4 separate regions of the Homo sapiens genome follow, and all the other regions are linked to region 4. Evidence: promoter capture Hi-C in human tissues and cell types (Jung and others, 2019). All regions are on one chromosome and are shown on one strand. Each heading gives the region's core, a stretch centred on a gene start or on the middle of the fragment in contact. The rest is flanking DNA. Distances are from core to core; before and after follow the strand shown.

Region 1 (3,847 bases), core at 454-2,953, 380 kb after region 4:
TAAAAGGAAATTTTTAATTAGATGCTGAAAAAGGGTATGCATATTTGAGGTACACTTTAAAATGTTTTTAAATAAGCAAATGTTAATGCAAATAGATATTGCAAACACTAAGAAATTAAATAAGACTAGGTAATTTTTAATTTAATTTTATTTAGAGACAGGATCTCACTGTCACGCAGACTGGAGTGCAGTGACATGATCATAGCTTACGGCACCCTCCAACCCCTGTCCTCAAGCCATACTCCAGCCTTGGCCTCCCAAAGCACTGGTGATACAGGTGTGAGCCACTGTGCCCAGCCAGACTAATCAATTTTGACTTTTCTCTGTACTACTTGCTATATCCAAGCATGAACTTGTGTTATTTTTGAATATTTTTTATTTCTGTGATGTAAGATTTGTTATAGATTCATTCCTGCTTTATATCTCAAGCAAGATTCAATTCGATGCATTTACTTAGTAGAGTGCCTACTATAGATGAGACGTTTTAAAACAGTATGGCCATTACAAATATATGTTTAATGATAGTGAGTAGTAAGTGCTTAAAGTAATAATGCTAAGCTTTAACAGTTCTTGAAATTTAAGTAAAAGGTAGTGGTACTAACACAAGCATGAAGGAATGCCACATGTGGCTGGAGTGCTGCTGGGCTCCCCTGCAGCCTCTCAAGGGAGGAGGATGAACACTCAAGGGATGGACCAACTGAAGCAGGGAAACTTGGCCACTTACTGCCTGACATAGAAGCCCAGCTGACTGCTGCATCTTACCCAGCCCACCATGTGTAAGAACTGGTTGAGACGACATTGAATTCCCTAAACTTCTGGGTGCTCAGTGGTGAACTGAGATGGAATACCTGCCAGCAGCTGGGCAGAGGAAAGAAAGCCAGCACTCTGGGAAGGTAGGCTTCACCTACTTACATCCTAATGGGGACTCACAGTGGCAGCAGAGCTGTGCAGAGCCTCGGGCCCTGGCATGGTATTCCAGCCAGAGTGGACTCTGCGCACGTGTGGGAGCAGCCCTGGCATTCAAGGATTTGCATTGAAGGCCTTGGTTGAGGATGCTGTGAAGGTGGCCACTGTGTGTATGGAGCAGTGACTTTATGGGTCAAGAATTCGACATGTGGCTGGGCACAGTGGCAGACACCTGTAATCCCAGCACTTTGGGAGGCCGAGGCAGGCGGATCACGAAGTAAGGAGATCAAGACCATCCTGGCTAACACGGTAAAACTAAACTAAAAATACAAAAGTTAGCCGGGTGTGGTGGTGGGCGCCTGTAGTCCCAGCTACTCGGGAGGCTGAGGCAGGTGAATGGTGTGAACCCAGGAGGTGGAGGTTGCTGTGAGCCAAGATCGTGCCACTGCACTCCAGCCTGGGCGACAGAGCGAGACTCCGTCTCAAAAAAAAAAAAAAAAAGAAAAAGAATTCGACATGTGCTTGCTATGTGAGGCCAGTGAGTGAACCCGCACTCTGAGGCTCAGCATTTATAGGTCAAGACAGCCCGCTGACTTCTTTGGGACCTGTCATAAACTCTTCTAAAGTGTTAATGTTTTTCGTATGCAAGAAAGCTCACCAATAAAAGAGGAAACTTTAGGGAAGGTTGAAAAGCAACTGTGGACTGGCCACGGTGATTTATCCCTTTAATCCCGGCACTTTGGGAGGCAGGAGGATTGCTTGAAGCCAGGAGTCTGAGACCAGCCTGGGCAACAAAGTGAGACCCCGTCTCTACTAAAAATTTAAAAATTAGCTGGGCATGATGGTGCACGCCTGTAGTCTTAGCTACTTGAGAGGCTGAGGCAAGAGGATCGTTTGAGGCCAGGAGCTCAAGGCTGCAGTGAGCCATGATGGCAGCAGAGTGAGACCCTGTCTCTAAATAAATAAATAAATGGAAAAACAATGGGATTTGATAGAAGGCAGGAACATGTACAAATATTGCAAATTTTTGCAAATTTGGGAAATTATGAAGATCTTAATCATACATATGGATTCTAGCATATGGACTGTTATTGATTGAATCTGGATTATTTTAGTTGGTTCTACTTTGTTCTACTGCATTGAAAATCATTGTTAGTATATTTAGTCTTCTCAGCTAACATCTTATACCTAGATAACTGTTGAGGTTTATAAAGGCCTTAAAACATGAATAATACTTACACAACTGTGGGATGCTTTTTTTTTAACTGAATGTATTGTAAGTCAAATTCAGTCCATATCTAAAGTCTGAAAATTTTAATATTCAGATGACTAATAGGTATAACTCTTTACCTTCTAGTCTGCATTCTGTAGTATTTGCCATACTTCTATAACTGCAACTTCTATTTTATTTATTTTAATTTTTTATTTGTTTGTTTTGAGACAGTCTTCCTCTCTTACCCAGGCTGGAGTGCAGTGGTGCAGTCACAGCTCACTGCAGCCTTAGTCTCCCATGCTCAAACAATCCTCCCACCTCAGCCTCCAGAGTAGCTGGGACTTAAGGCACATATCACCACACCTGGCTAGTGTTGTTGTTGTTGTTGTTGTTGTTGTTGTTTTCTAGAGACGGTTTCATCATCTTGCCCAGCCTGCTCTCAAACTCCTAGGCTCAAGTGATCCTCCCACCTTGACCTCCCAAAGTTCTGGGATTACAGGCGTGAGCCATTGTGCCTGACCGCAACTTCTATTTTAGAGAAAGCTGCAACTCAATAATTAGTGGAATATTTCCTATGTATATTATATACACAAAAAAGCATTTGCCATGAAAAACCTAAACTGTGTATTCAAAAGCTTTAATATAAACAGTATTATTCAAAATGGAAAGACTTTCATTCCTGCCCTCATGAAATAGAAATTCAGCTATATTTGATCATGACTGTAGAATATTACTAGAGATTGGGTTTTTTATGTTATGTTTTGTTCAAGTAGATACACCTTTTTGAGGTCATTCATATAGTTAGTGACATGTAAATGCTTTTTAACTACACTGTTTAAACAGTATCAACAGAGGCTTCGAGTGTGATGTTTACATTTCTGGAACTTACGGGCTGTACCCTCAGTCTGTCCTGGAACCTCTGCATTCCACCCTCAGTCTATCCTGGCTGCTGTGAAGATGGAGTGCTGGTGGCTGGTCGTTAGCAGTCACTCCACCTCACACCCAAGTTTAGCCACATGGCCAAGCCAGTCCTGTGGTGTTTATCAAGGAAGAAGGGCCCTGGAGATTGCAGGCTCCACTTTCTGCCTCCCCAGCCATCCCTTTACTTGCATACCTGGCAGGAAGGGTTAGGTAGGACAGCCAAGCACAGCATAAATCTGAACGGAAGCTGATGTCAGGTCTCTCTCCTTCTTAGCTGTGCCCCACAGCTGTGCCCCACTATCACGCAAGTTGTTTCATGTGGCACATTCTGTGATGATGACGTAATCGTGTTACCTTCATTTACTGAGTGCTTGCTAGGCATTACAAAATTATGAAGCACCTCCTCGTGTTGGGTTTAGGAATATAGAGCAATGAACAAAACAGACAAGGGGCCGGCTCTCCAGAATAAAGTAAATAAGATCATTTTCAATTGGTTTGTAGCCAGGTAACCTTGGACAAATTACCTTATACTTTACTTTTCTCATTTGTAAAATGGAGGTTATGATGGTATCTCCTTATGTGATTGATATATTAATGAGATAATACTCAAAAAGCACTTAGAACAGGTCCTAGTACATGGTGAATGCTAAGTGCTCAAAAAGCACTCCCAATTATTATGAGACATAATACTGTGTGCCATGATATGGAGTAACCTGGATAGGAGCATCAAGGTCACCTTGGAATGAGCAGTGAGGGGAAGCTGAAGAGGGAGAGCTTCAAGGTGAAACCTAACGGATGAAGTGGAGT
Region 2 (4,128 bases), core at 95-2,594, 420 kb after region 4:
TCCCCAAATTCAAGCTAAAATGATTAATTTTATAATTTCAGTATCTAATACCGAAAATAACCTTTTCCCAATTGGAAGATAGTTGTATGTTTGGGCTAAGTCACAGAGCCTCTTAGATCTGGCCTACCAGATCTAAATTTCATCTGATCCACAGTTCTGGTGATGAAATATCACTCAGCCCTACCCGCTGTTGAATGGCTGTGTTGCAGGGAACTTGTGATCACAGAGCCACCAGGCAGGCACACATGCTGCCAGATGCCTATGCAGGGAGCACCGCTCCAGCCACCTGCTTTGGTCCAGAGGCTCGCAGAAAAACAGCATCATAGCTTTTGTTTCTCTGACGGACTAATTTTTTGGATTTGAGTGTCTATGTCGACTGGTCAGAGGAAGAAGAGTCAGAAAAACAGCCTGAGCTTCGGTTTAAAAACTGTACAGTTTTCACAACAGTGCCAGTCTGATGTATGCTCACCGCAGAACATGCAGCATGGCCTGTGCTTCCTTCCTCTCCGGGGCACACCTGCTATTCCTCAATGACTCTCTACTAAGGGCCACCCCCCAACCTGCCCCCGACCACCGACCTCTGTCCTCCCAAGTGGCCTGTGCGGCACTTTAGTAGGCCAAACAAGCTGAGAAGTCACGTGGCTTTGGTGTCATAATTCTGTGTGTGAACTTCATTTTTTGTTGCTGTTTATTATATGCTTTTATTTGTATTTGCCAGGGCAATACTGAGAAAAAGAAAAGAAATTCCCTGAAATATGTTAACCTATCATAGGTATAGAAACTATAGCTAACAAATTATTTTGTGGGGAGTGGGGAAAGGAGACCTCTTTCAGTTCAAAAATCTGGTATTTATTTCCCAACTTGTTAAAACAACCACAGAGTCCAAAATATATTATTAATTTATAGGTACTATTTTCTGTAGGCCTCTTGAAGGGCCGTTTTACAGTAGTGTACTGGAGAAGCTCTTACTGAAGAGCATTTTGTCAATACTCAGTGTCTACAGAGGGTGCTGTCTGAGTGTTGAGAATGACAAAGGAAGCAACTGACATGGTCTTTGACCTTGAATTGTGTCCCTTTCAACCCAAAACAGGACAGGCAGAAGTATTAGAGTAGTTGATGATTCAATTAACTAGATCTTAGCTGACTGATCTCAGAAGGTTTCATGAAAGAAGTGAGAACAAATGCTTTAAACATCTTGATCTAGCAGAAAGAAAAGTGTCTCTAAATTGGTGAGATGTTATCTGTGGAGACAAATGTAGGATTTAGAGAGAGAGATGCAAAAGGGGAAGTAAGAGGGTTTATTCAAGAGAGATTATGACTGGGTGCAGTGGCTCTTGCCTGTAACCTAGCACTTTGGGATGCCAAGACGGGCAGATCGCTTGAGCTCAGGAGTTCGAGACCAGCCAGGGCAACATAGTGAGACCTCCACCTCAAAAAAAAAAAAAAAGAAAAAGTTAATTCTCTCACTTATTCAGTAAATATTATTTAGTCCCTGTTTGTACTATGCTCCCAGCTAGTTGCCATGGCATTGAGCTGTGTGCCAGATTTGGGGGATTTATCACAAACCAGAATATACTGAGGTATAAAGTCTGCTAGATAAAGCCTAAATCCTATTATTAGGGATTTTGCATTGGTTCCAGAGAAATGAGGGTCGATATGAGTTTTTGAGTGAAGAAGAGAAGAGGTCATAAACACAAAAATGGAGTAAGACTGTCTACTCCTGTACCTGCAATAGATGGGAAATTGAGGGAGAGATTGGGATAGGGCCACAAGGCTGGAAACTTTTCCCACAGCTGAAGGAAGGGGAACAGAGAAGTGGTACATAGGGAGCTCTCAGGAGCTGTGGCACATGCCAGGAGCACAAAACAGCTCACTTCCTCCACACTCAGAGCAGCATGGAAGCCAAGGGGAGACTCAGAAGGATAGCTGGTGATGCAGCACCACCTAGCAAGCACCCACACAGAGAGCGGAGGCTCAGAGCACCCACTTTGGAGGGGGTGCAGAGGGTGGGGTAAGATGTAGGAGCTCTGGAGAGAACAGGAAAGGCATGGGCTAAGGGCTAAAATGGAAGGGAGAACAAGCTCCCAGGCCCACACAGCCATTTCATCCCCTGGGGAGTGAGGCAAGGCGAGGACCACTGCCCTGGTCAGTTTCCATGAAAAGGTGAGGGGAGGAAGTGCATTTCAGAGAATGAGCCAATTGAGAAGCTATTGTCTAAACACCAAATTTGATTTTTACGGCAGCAGATTAAGTGGTGATAAGCTTTATATCAGAAGCCAAGCTCAGTCAACATGCTCAGAAAAATAACCATCTGAGTCAGGATAGAAAGTTCCTTTGTAGCCCCCAGTGGGATTCCCAGCCCACTGCCCTGCTAGCCTCTGCACTAGTTTCCCAGGCTTTATTTAACCCCCTTTTCCCTCACAGGCCAGTCTCATGCTGCACCCTCATTAAGGGCCCAGCACTGCCTCCCTTGCCTCCTGCTGCAACCACCACCAGGGTGCCCTCTGGCACCATGGAGGTAACCTTGCAGCTCACTCTGGTGCCTGTGCCTAGGGCTGTGTGGGATGTCTGCTAGCCTGTGGCCCAACACAGACGCATGTTTTAATGTCAGTGAGCAGTGTCACTGGTATAGGTTTGAGTGTGCCCCTTTTTTGATGAATAATATGAGAACATCATGCCATTCATATGAGGAGCCCTCCAGTGCATCATAGATGCATCATACAAGGGCTGCTCTCCAGTGCTGGCCCATGGCACGTGCCTGCCTTCCCCATCCCCTCCAGTGCTGGCCTGTGCCAGGTCCCCACCTTCCCCCGCCCCCTCCAGTGCTGGCCTGTGCCAGGTGCCCACCTGCCCCCATCCGCTCCTGTGCTGGCCTGTGTCAGGTGCCTACCTCCCCCCACCCCTTCCAGTGCTGGCCTGTGCCAGGTGCCCACTTCCCCCATCCCCTCCAGTGCTGGCCTGTGCCATGTGCCCGCCTGCCTCCATCCCCTCCAGTGCTGGCCTGTGCCATGTGCCCGCCTGCCTCCATCCCCTCCAGTGCTGGCCTGTGCCATGTGCTGCGCCACTGGGCTCCAAGTCTAATGGACCTATGATGGCTTCATCATCATTACAACTGTTCCTTGTAGGGTGTCTGCACATAGACAGTCAGTGAAGGTGTGTCAATTGCATGCCCAGCCGCCATATTTCACAGTTGCCTGCTGGTTGGTAGGCTCCCTCAGGGCAGGTGCTGTTTCTCATTTACCGTTATATTTTCTGTAGATAGCAGAATTTCTGACACATGATAAGCAAATAATTTGTATTTGTGGGATGCACATTAGGTGTTTTCTTGGGTTAATCTTAGAACTTTTGTCAGCAAGATTTAAATGTGTGTTTATACTTCATAATTATTGGAGCTCAATTTTAGCAGTAAGGGTGGCGACCCATTACTGTATGCGGTGCAGGTGACAGAGTCTGTGTGCGGTGCAGGTGACAACCACGCTAGCCATGTGCCTCTGGACACAGACCCTCGGTGTCCTCACTAATTTAAGGGAAAGTGAACATGGGCATGTGGTGAAAGCACTTTATCACGGATGGCAAGAGTGTGAGTGTTCATTATGAATTTTTCACAGGAAAAAAAGTTGTATGCATTGCACTTTCCCTTTTCCTTTTAGTCTTCACAAAAGTCAATTACAGAGGAGGAAGCTCAATGTCCACCCAGTCTTACAGAAGAGGGCCTGAGATAGAGGTGGGGTGACTGGCCCAGGGTCCACCAGCCAGCCCAGCTGTGACTGGGCAGGATGCTGGGGCCTTCAGTCTCCCGCAGAGCCCATCACGTTCCATCCAGCTGAGTGAGACTGGGGTACACCAAAGTGCTGGAGAGGGAACCCTTAGGAATCATTCCACACAAGTTTACTGGGCCGGGTTATGTATTGGAGAATCATTTCAGAGGCTCCTTTAACAGGAAATATGTAGTGGTAAGAGCTCTCCGTGGGTAAGAAACTTCAATAGTAATTTACTTCCTTTGATTTTCCTTCTTCAAAAAGGCCACCCTTTTAAAAAGCCACACACTTCCCTTGGGGTTTGAGGTCCAGAATCTCTTTCTTAATTGCTATGCTTAGAAACCCTGCTTCAAAGGACATTTCTAAGAAT
Region 3 (3,845 bases), core at 246-2,745, 490 kb after region 4:
TTTCATCATTCTTCAAGAAAAGAATTTTCAACCCAGAATTTCACATCCAGCCAAACTAAGCTTCATAAGTGAAGGAGAAATAAAATCCTTTACAGACAAGCAAATGCTGAGAGATTTTGTAACCACCAGTCCTGCCCTACAAGAGCTCCTGAAGGAAGCAGTAAACATGGAAATAAACAACTGGTAATAGCCACTCCAAAAACATGCCAAATTGTAAAGACCATCAGTGCTATGAAGAAACTGCATCAATTAGTGGGCAAAATAACCAGTGAACATCAAAATGACAAGATCAAATTCACATATAACAACATTAACCTTAAATGTAAATTGGCTAAATGCCCCAATTAAAAGACACAGACTGGCAAATTGGATTAACAAATAGACCACTAGCAAGTCTAATAAAGAAGAAAAGAGAGAAGAATCAAACAGATGCAATCAAAAATGATAAAAGGGGTATCACCACCAATCCCACAGAAATACAAATTACCATCAGAGAATATTATAAACACCTCTACACAAATAAACTAGAAAATCTAGAGGAAATGGATAAATTCCTGGACACATACACCTATGACCGGTGATGATGAGCTTTTTTTCATATGTATGTTGGCCACATAAATGTCTTCTTTTGAGAAGTGTCTGTTCATATCCTTCACCCACTTTTTGATGGGGTTGTTTTTTTTTTCTTGTAAAGTTGTTTAAGTTCTTTGTAGATTCTGGATATTAGCCCTTTGTCAGATGAGTAGATTGCAAAAATGTTCTCCCATTCTGTAGGTTGCCTGTTCACTCTGATGATAGTTTCTTTTGCTGTGCAGAAGCTCTTTAGTTTAATTAGATCCCATTTGTTAATTTTGGCTTTTCTTCCCATTGCTTTTAGTGTTTTAGTCATGAAGTCATTTGCCCATGCCTACGTCCTGAATGGTATTGCCTAGGTTTTCTTCTAGGGTTTGTTTTTTGTTTGTTTGTTTTGTTTTGCTTTTTTGAGACAGAGTCTTACCCTGTCACCCAGGCTGGAGTGCAGTGGCGCAATCTTGGCTCATTGCAACCTCCGCCTCCCGGGTTCAAGTGATTCTCCTGCCTCAGCCTCCAGAGTAGTTGGGACTACAGGCCCGTGCCACCATGCCTGGATTTTTTTTGAATATTTAGTAGAGATGGGGTTTCACTATGTTAGCCAGGATGTCTCAATCTCCTGATCTCGTGATCAGCCTGCCTCGGGCTCCCAAAGTGCTGGGATTACAGGCATGAGCCACTGTGCCCAGCCTAGGATTTTTATGGTTTTAGGTCTTATGTTTAAGTCTTTAATCCATCTTGAGTTAATTTTTGTATAAGGTGTAAGGAAGGGGTCCAGTTTCAGTTTTCTGCATATGGCTAGCCAGTTTTCCTAACACCATTTATTAAATAGGGAATCATTTCCCCATTGCTTGTTTCTGGCAGGTTTGTCAAAGATCAGATGGTTGTAGATGTGTGGCATTATTTCTATGGCCTCTGTTCTATTCCATTTGTCTATATATCTGTTTTGGTACCAGCACCATGCTGATTTGGTTACTATAGCCTTGTAGTATAGTTTGAAGTCAGGTGGCATGATGCCTCCAGCTTTCTTCTTTTTGCTTAGGATTGTCTTGGCTATGTGGGCTCTTTTTTGGTTCCATATGAAATTTAAACTAATTTTTTAATTCTGTGAAGAAAGTGACTGGTAGCTTGATGGGGATGGCACTGAATCTATTAATTACTTTGGGCGGTATGGCCATTTTCACAATATTGATTCTTCCTATGCATGAACATGGAATGTTTTTCCATTTGTGTCCTGTCTTATTTCCTTGAGCAGTGGTTTGTAGTTCTCCTTGAAGAGGTCCTTCACATCCCTTGTAAGTTGTATTCCTAGGGATTTTATTCTCTTTGTAGCAATTGTGAATGGGAGTTCACTCATGATTTGGATCTCTGTTTGTTTATTGTTGGTGTATAGGAATGCTTGTGATTTTTGCATATTGATTTTGTGTCCTGAGACTTTGCTGAAGTTGCAAAATTATCAGCTTTAGGAGATTTTGCGCTGAGACAATGGGATTTTACAAATATACAATTATGTCATCTGGAAACAGAGACAATTTGAATTCCTCTCTTCCTATTTAAATACCCTTTATTTCTTTCTCTTGCCTGATTGCCCTGGCCAGAACTTCCAATACTATGTTCAATAGGAGTGGTGAGAGAAGGCATCCTTGTCTTATGCCCGTTTTCAATGAGAATGCTTCCAGCTTTTGCCCATTCAGTATGATATTGGCTGTGGGTTTGTCATAAATTGTTCTTATTATTTTGAGATACGTTCCATCAATACCTAGTTTAGTGAGAGTTTTTAGCATGAAGTGGTGTTGAATTACATCAAAGGCCTTTTCTGCATCTATCTAGATAATCATGTGGCTTTTGTGTCATTGGTTCTGTTTATGTGATGGATTACATTTATTAATTTGTGTATGTTGAAATAGCCTTGCATCCCAGGGATGAAGCAGATTTGATCGTGGTGGATAAGCTTTTTGATGTGCTGCCGGATTCGGTTTGCCAGTATTTTATTGAGGATTTTCACATAGATGTTCATCAGGGATATTGGCCTGAAATTTTCTTTTTTTGTTGTGTCTCTGCCATGTTTTGGTATCAGGATGATGCTGGCCTCATAAAATGAGTTAGGAAAGAGTCTCTCTTTTTCTGTTGTTTGAATTAGTTTCAGAAGGAATGGTACCAGCTTCTCTTTGTACCTCTGGTAGAATTCAGCTGTCAATCCATCTGGTCCTGCACTTTTTTTGGCTGGTAGGCTATTAATTACTGCCTCAATTTCAGAACTTGTTATTGGTCTATTCAGGGATTCGACTTCTTCCTGGTTTAGTCTTTGGAAGGTGTATGTGTCCAGGAATTTATCCATTTCTTCTAGATTTTCTAGTTTATTTGCATAGAGGTGTTTATAGTATTCCCTAATGGTAGTTTGTATTTCTGGAAGGTCAGTGGTGATATTCCCTTTATTATTTTTTATTGGCTAGTGGTCTATCTACTTTGTTAATCTTTTCAAAAAACCAGCTCCTGGATTCATTGATTTTTTTTTGTTTGTTTTTAGACGGAGTCTTGCTCTGTCGCCCAGGCTGGAGTGCAGTGGTGTGATCTCAGCTCACTGCAGCCTCTGCCTCCCGGGTTCCAGCAATTCTCCTGCCTCAGCCTCCTGGGTAGCTGGTATTACAGGTGTGCACCACCATGCCTGGCTAATTTTTGTATTTTTAGTAGAGATGGGGTTTCACCATGTTGGCCAAGCTGGTCTCGAATTCCTGACCTCAGGTGATCTGCCCGCTTTGGCCTACCAAAGTGCTGGGATTACAGGCATCAGCCACAGTGCCCGGCTGATTCATTGAATTTTTGAAGGGTTTTTTTCTGTCTCTATCTCCTTTTTTTCTGCTCTGATCTTAGTTATTTCTTGTCTTCTGCTAGCTTTTGAATTTGTTTGCTCTTGCTTCTCTAGTTCTTTTAACCATGATGTTAGGGTGTTGATTTTAGATCTTTTCCACTTTCTCCTGTGGGCATTTAGTGCTATAAATTTCCCTCTAAACATTGCTTTAGCTGTGTCCCAGAGATTCTGTTATGTTGTGTCTTTGTTTTCTTTGGTTTCAAAGAACTTACTTATTTCTGCCTTAATATCATTATTTACCCAGTAGTCATTCAGGAGCAGGTTATTCAATTTCCGTGTAGTTGTGCAGTTTTGATTGAGTTTCTTTTTTTTTCTTTTTTCTTTCTTTTTTTTTTTTTTTTTTTGAGATGGAGTCTCACTCTGTCGCCCAGGCTGGAGTGCAGTGGCGTGATCTTGGCTTACTGCA
Region 4 (3,812 bases), core at 602-3,101:
GCAGGGAGGTTCAGGCTTGCTAGTTTAGGGAAGCTGGCCACCAGGTTCAGGTTTGACAGGCGCATAGGAAATGGCATGGCAGAGGGAGGCCAGAGCCTTTTAGGCAAAAGGAAGAGCAAATGCTTATTAGACCCCAAGGCTGCAGGAGCTAGGCACGTTTGACCACCGAAAGGGAAGGCCAGTATAGACAGCATAAACCTCACTGTGGTGTCTGTGTTGAGAATGGATTGTATGTGTGTGCTGTGTGAGGGGCAAGAGTGGATTAGGGGACATGGGTTAAGAGCTACTAGCAGTCTGGGCAAAAGATACTAGTGGCCTGGGAAACAGTGGTAGTGGAGAGTGGACACATTAGTAAGACACACAAACGTGTTCACAAAAATTCCTAGGTTTCTGCGTGAGCTGTGGCCAGGTGGATGTCCATGCCACTACTGAGATGGCGAATTCTGAACAGGAGGAAGTTTGGAGAAAAACCCCAACATTTCGGCAGGACAGCACCTCCTGGTGGAGATGACAAGCGGGAGCCTCACCACAGGCCTGGTTGTGGGAGTGAAAGGGGGACTCCGGGCGCGGTCGGGTGCACTTACTGTGCTAAGACAGCAAGGCCCGGCGGAGGTGGCAATGGCAGACCTGGTTTCTCGGCGGAGTCCCAGTGGGAGGCCCGGTGTCCAAAATCCTCAACTAGATTGGGCATGCCGTTTATCTTGTTCCAACTGTTGACAGTAATGGCACTAGCAATAATGTCCTTCCCAGGCAAAGATGGTTTTTCTTCCGTGTTTTCAGCCACTGCAGAGTGGACATCTACTATGAACCAAGTATCTGCGGCTTTAGGTACCAGATTCAAACACAGAATGGTGGCAGAACAGGGACTAGGACGGAGAGAAAACCTGAAGATGGATCAACCAGGAAGCAATGCATTCTCACAGAGGCACAAAAAAATGCCTCTGAAACAGAAGATTCACCTCCACTTCTGCGTCCTTTTGAGGCAACTTTCTGAGCATCCTTTCCTCCTCCCCAGGCCAACGCTTTTCCACCTTGTTAAACTACCCGGTAGCTTTCTCCATGGGAGGCGCCTTCTTCACAGTACTCGGACCCAGTTACACTTGTGGCCTTCCCCGGCTTCTGCTGGGCCGGCTATGGTCGACGCCGCACCGTCTCAGGCCCACTTCTCCTGCGGGAGCGGCGGCCCCAGCGGAGCCCCTGTGCGCCACGGCGAACGTGATAGGAATGCAATCTTCCGCCCCTTCAGACTCTGGCACCCCGTAGCCTTTCCTCAGGCTCCACGAGTTCTCCCGGTGATGTGATGACCGACATGGCGTCTGGGCTCTGAACACAGACTTTACTCCTTCCCCCCGGCCCCGAAACATGGGGAAACCACACCCTCTCTGCTCCAGTCACCAGCAGCCACTCCCATTCCTTAAGTATCCATTATTGCATGTGTAGCCTATTGCATGTGTAGCCTACTTCTGGTTTTCATTTTTATTTAAGGTCAGTTGTTGCCTGACAACACAGACGACAGTAACTTAATTCGAAAGACAATACTTGGAGGCGGCCCCCGCTCCAGGCACCAGCCCAGCAGCTCCCCCGAACTCCCCAGGAGCTCGCGGGCGAGCAACGCCACAGCCCAGAGCGAGCTCCGCGGAACCCCCAGCCCCGGGGAAGGAAGCTCGACTCTCCGCGGGGCACTCCTTCCGGGCTCCGGGCCCGACTAGGCCATCCGGGAGGCCCTGGAGCGCCGGGGCCGGAGAAGCCCTGCCCCCCGCCGAAGCCCCGCCCTGCGCCCGAGCGCCCGCCAATGGCAGGGCGCGGTGCGGCGCGCCGAGGTGGGACGGCGGCGCGCTGAGGAGGCGGTGCGCTCAGGCGGCGCTCCCGGAGATGCCCCGCGGCAGCCGCGCTCGGGGCTCTAAGGTAGGCTCTGGGGCGGGAGTGGGCGCCGCGCCGTTTCCCGCGTTGCGGGGAAGCGGCGGGCCGGCGCGGGGCTGGCCCCGTTGTGCTGGGGTGAGAGAGGGTGGGCGTTGGGGGTGAAGGGCTAGGTGGTGGCGGGTCCCGTCTGCGCGCGTGGAGCAAGCCCGCGCAGTGGGGTACCGCCCCCAGGTCCGGCTCCGGTCCAGGCGTGCGGGCCGGGCCCTCAGCGGCGGTACGGAAAGCGAGGGGTGGGACCGCCGAGGGACGCAGCGGGCGGGAGCATATGTCCGCCTCGGGGGTACTTGGCCTTACTCTTGTCTCTTTTTGATTCTGGTGTAATGTACCAAACCGCAGGGAATCCTGGCGTGGTTTTACCCGTCTCCGCGGATAATCCACTGTCAACTCTGTCTCTCTTCCTGCCGCACTCGGAGGGGACTGTGCGGCTGACTGCCCAATCCGTGGGCACCGCGCTGCCTCGGGTTCCAGAACGGGAGCGGGTGCCTAGGAATCGTTGCTTGAATGGTGTTTGATTGCACCTGTATCCGCGAGTGCATCCTTTTTTGTTCTGCTAATTGTGCTTGTCATGGCATGTGTCCTTTATCGTTTTAAAGTTTCTTCTAACTTCCTTGCTTTCAAATACGTTTGTCTCATAGTAAAACGGTTTTTAAAAAGCAAACACAGGACCTCCTTTCTTGACTCTTGCCTTTACTTGAAAACTTCCTGGAAAAAATAGACCACATATACTGGTTCAACTTCTTTACCACTACCATGCTTTCTCGCTTCTCAAATACCATTGATTATCAGCCCACACTATCAGTTTTGTGACTGGCTTTAGGGAATAAAGAAATTCATTTCAGGCACCTCTTGATTATAAGATACAGTCTGATTTCTGAAGCATTAATGTGTGAAAAAAATCAAGGAAATATATAAATTTGCTAAATCCAGTGTAAGTTGTTTACTTGATCATTGGAGCGTTTGACACATTCACCACCTGCTTTTATTTCTTTTGGAACATCCATGATTGTTTTCCTGTCTTGCAACAGCTCATTTTCTTCTCTTTACTGTGTTCGTGCCATGTTCTAATTTTTGACCTTGTGCTTTTTCACATGTTCCATATTTGCTTTGGACAATGTCATACATTGAAGTTAACTATATAGATGACTTTCAGATCTATATTAGATCTTTCCCTAGAGCTCAAACTTAGTGCATCACATAATCATCATCTCACCCTTAGTCCTCCAGGCCCTAACAGTTTCTCTTGACTTAGAAATCTTAGTATTTTTGAATTGACGTTCACTTCTGGTCTCTTCATCTTGTCATTTTTCAAGACTCTTTTTTTTTACTCAATTTTTTTTAGTAGTCGTACAGTTGTCTATTGTGTAATACGTTGCTGAAAACTGAAGCAGTTCATAACAAATGTTTATTATATCATAGAGTTTCTGAGACTCAGGAATCTGAGAACGGCTCAACTAAGTGGTTGTAGTTCAGGATCTCCCACAAGGCTGCAGTCAAATAAAGGGTCGTTGGAGCTGGAGAATCCAGTTCCAAGCTCACTCACGTGGTTGTTTCTTGACAGCTGCATAGGGCAGCTCACAACAGGGTCCTGGCTTTCCCAAGAGCAAGAGAGAGAGCAACAAGATATCGGTCCCCGTGTCTTTTATAGCCTAAACTCAGAAGTGACATCCCATCTCCTGTCTATTCATTACATGGACCAACCCGGTACAATGTATGAGGAGACTATAGAGGGTCCCCAGGAGGTGGGGATCACAGGGGCCACCTTGGAGGCTGGCTTCCACAGTATTTCCCAGGAATTTATTTTTTGTTTCTGTCTCCCTCGGTCAGTCTCAAAAGTACTTAATGGTTGGAGTGTTGATGTGTAGTGCCGGCTAGCATGCTCCCATTCCATCTTC

What was found. Contacts are between HindIII fragments. The study calls those that stand out against the background at their distance.
Region 1: a contact is called between a fragment that was not itself captured here and the fragment with the promoter of SPIDR in region 4, in 1 of the 25 tissues and cell types used here (dorsolateral prefrontal cortex).
Region 2: a fragment that was not itself captured here is called in contact with the fragment with the promoter of SPIDR in region 4 in 1 of the 25 tissues and cell types used here (dorsolateral prefrontal cortex).
Region 3: a fragment that was not itself captured here is called in contact with the fragment with the promoter of SPIDR in region 4 in 2 of the 25 tissues and cell types used here (heart right ventricle and spleen).

The regions. Positions count from the first base shown.
Region 1 is chr8:47,641,026-47,644,872 of GRCh38, forward strand. All of the region lies in intron 10 of SPIDR (scaffold protein involved in DNA repair), which reads left to right. Among named protein-coding and RNA genes, the nearest start is that of CEBPD, 95 kb to the right of the region's middle. The HindIII fragment of the contact is 4,785 bases long and covers 1-3,847 here.
Region 2 is chr8:47,676,607-47,680,734 of GRCh38, forward strand. The region is part of intron 11 of SPIDR (scaffold protein involved in DNA repair); the gene reads left to right. Among named protein-coding and RNA genes, the nearest start is that of CEBPD, 59 kb to the right of the region's middle. The HindIII fragment of the contact is 7,312 bases long and covers 1-4,128 here.
Region 3 is chr8:47,753,804-47,757,648 of GRCh38, forward strand. No RefSeq gene overlaps it. Among named protein-coding and RNA genes, the nearest start is that of CEBPD, 18 kb to the left of the region's middle. The HindIII fragment of the contact is 4,548 bases long and covers 1-3,769 here.
Region 4 is chr8:47,259,087-47,262,898 of GRCh38, forward strand. SPIDR (scaffold protein involved in DNA repair) reads left to right here and starts at 1,852. Exons shown (of 20, transcript NM_001080394.4): 1 at 1,852-1,905. The coding sequence starts at 1,873. RefSeq lists a silencer at 1,566-2,115. The HindIII fragment of the contact is 26,545 bases long and covers 1-3,812 here.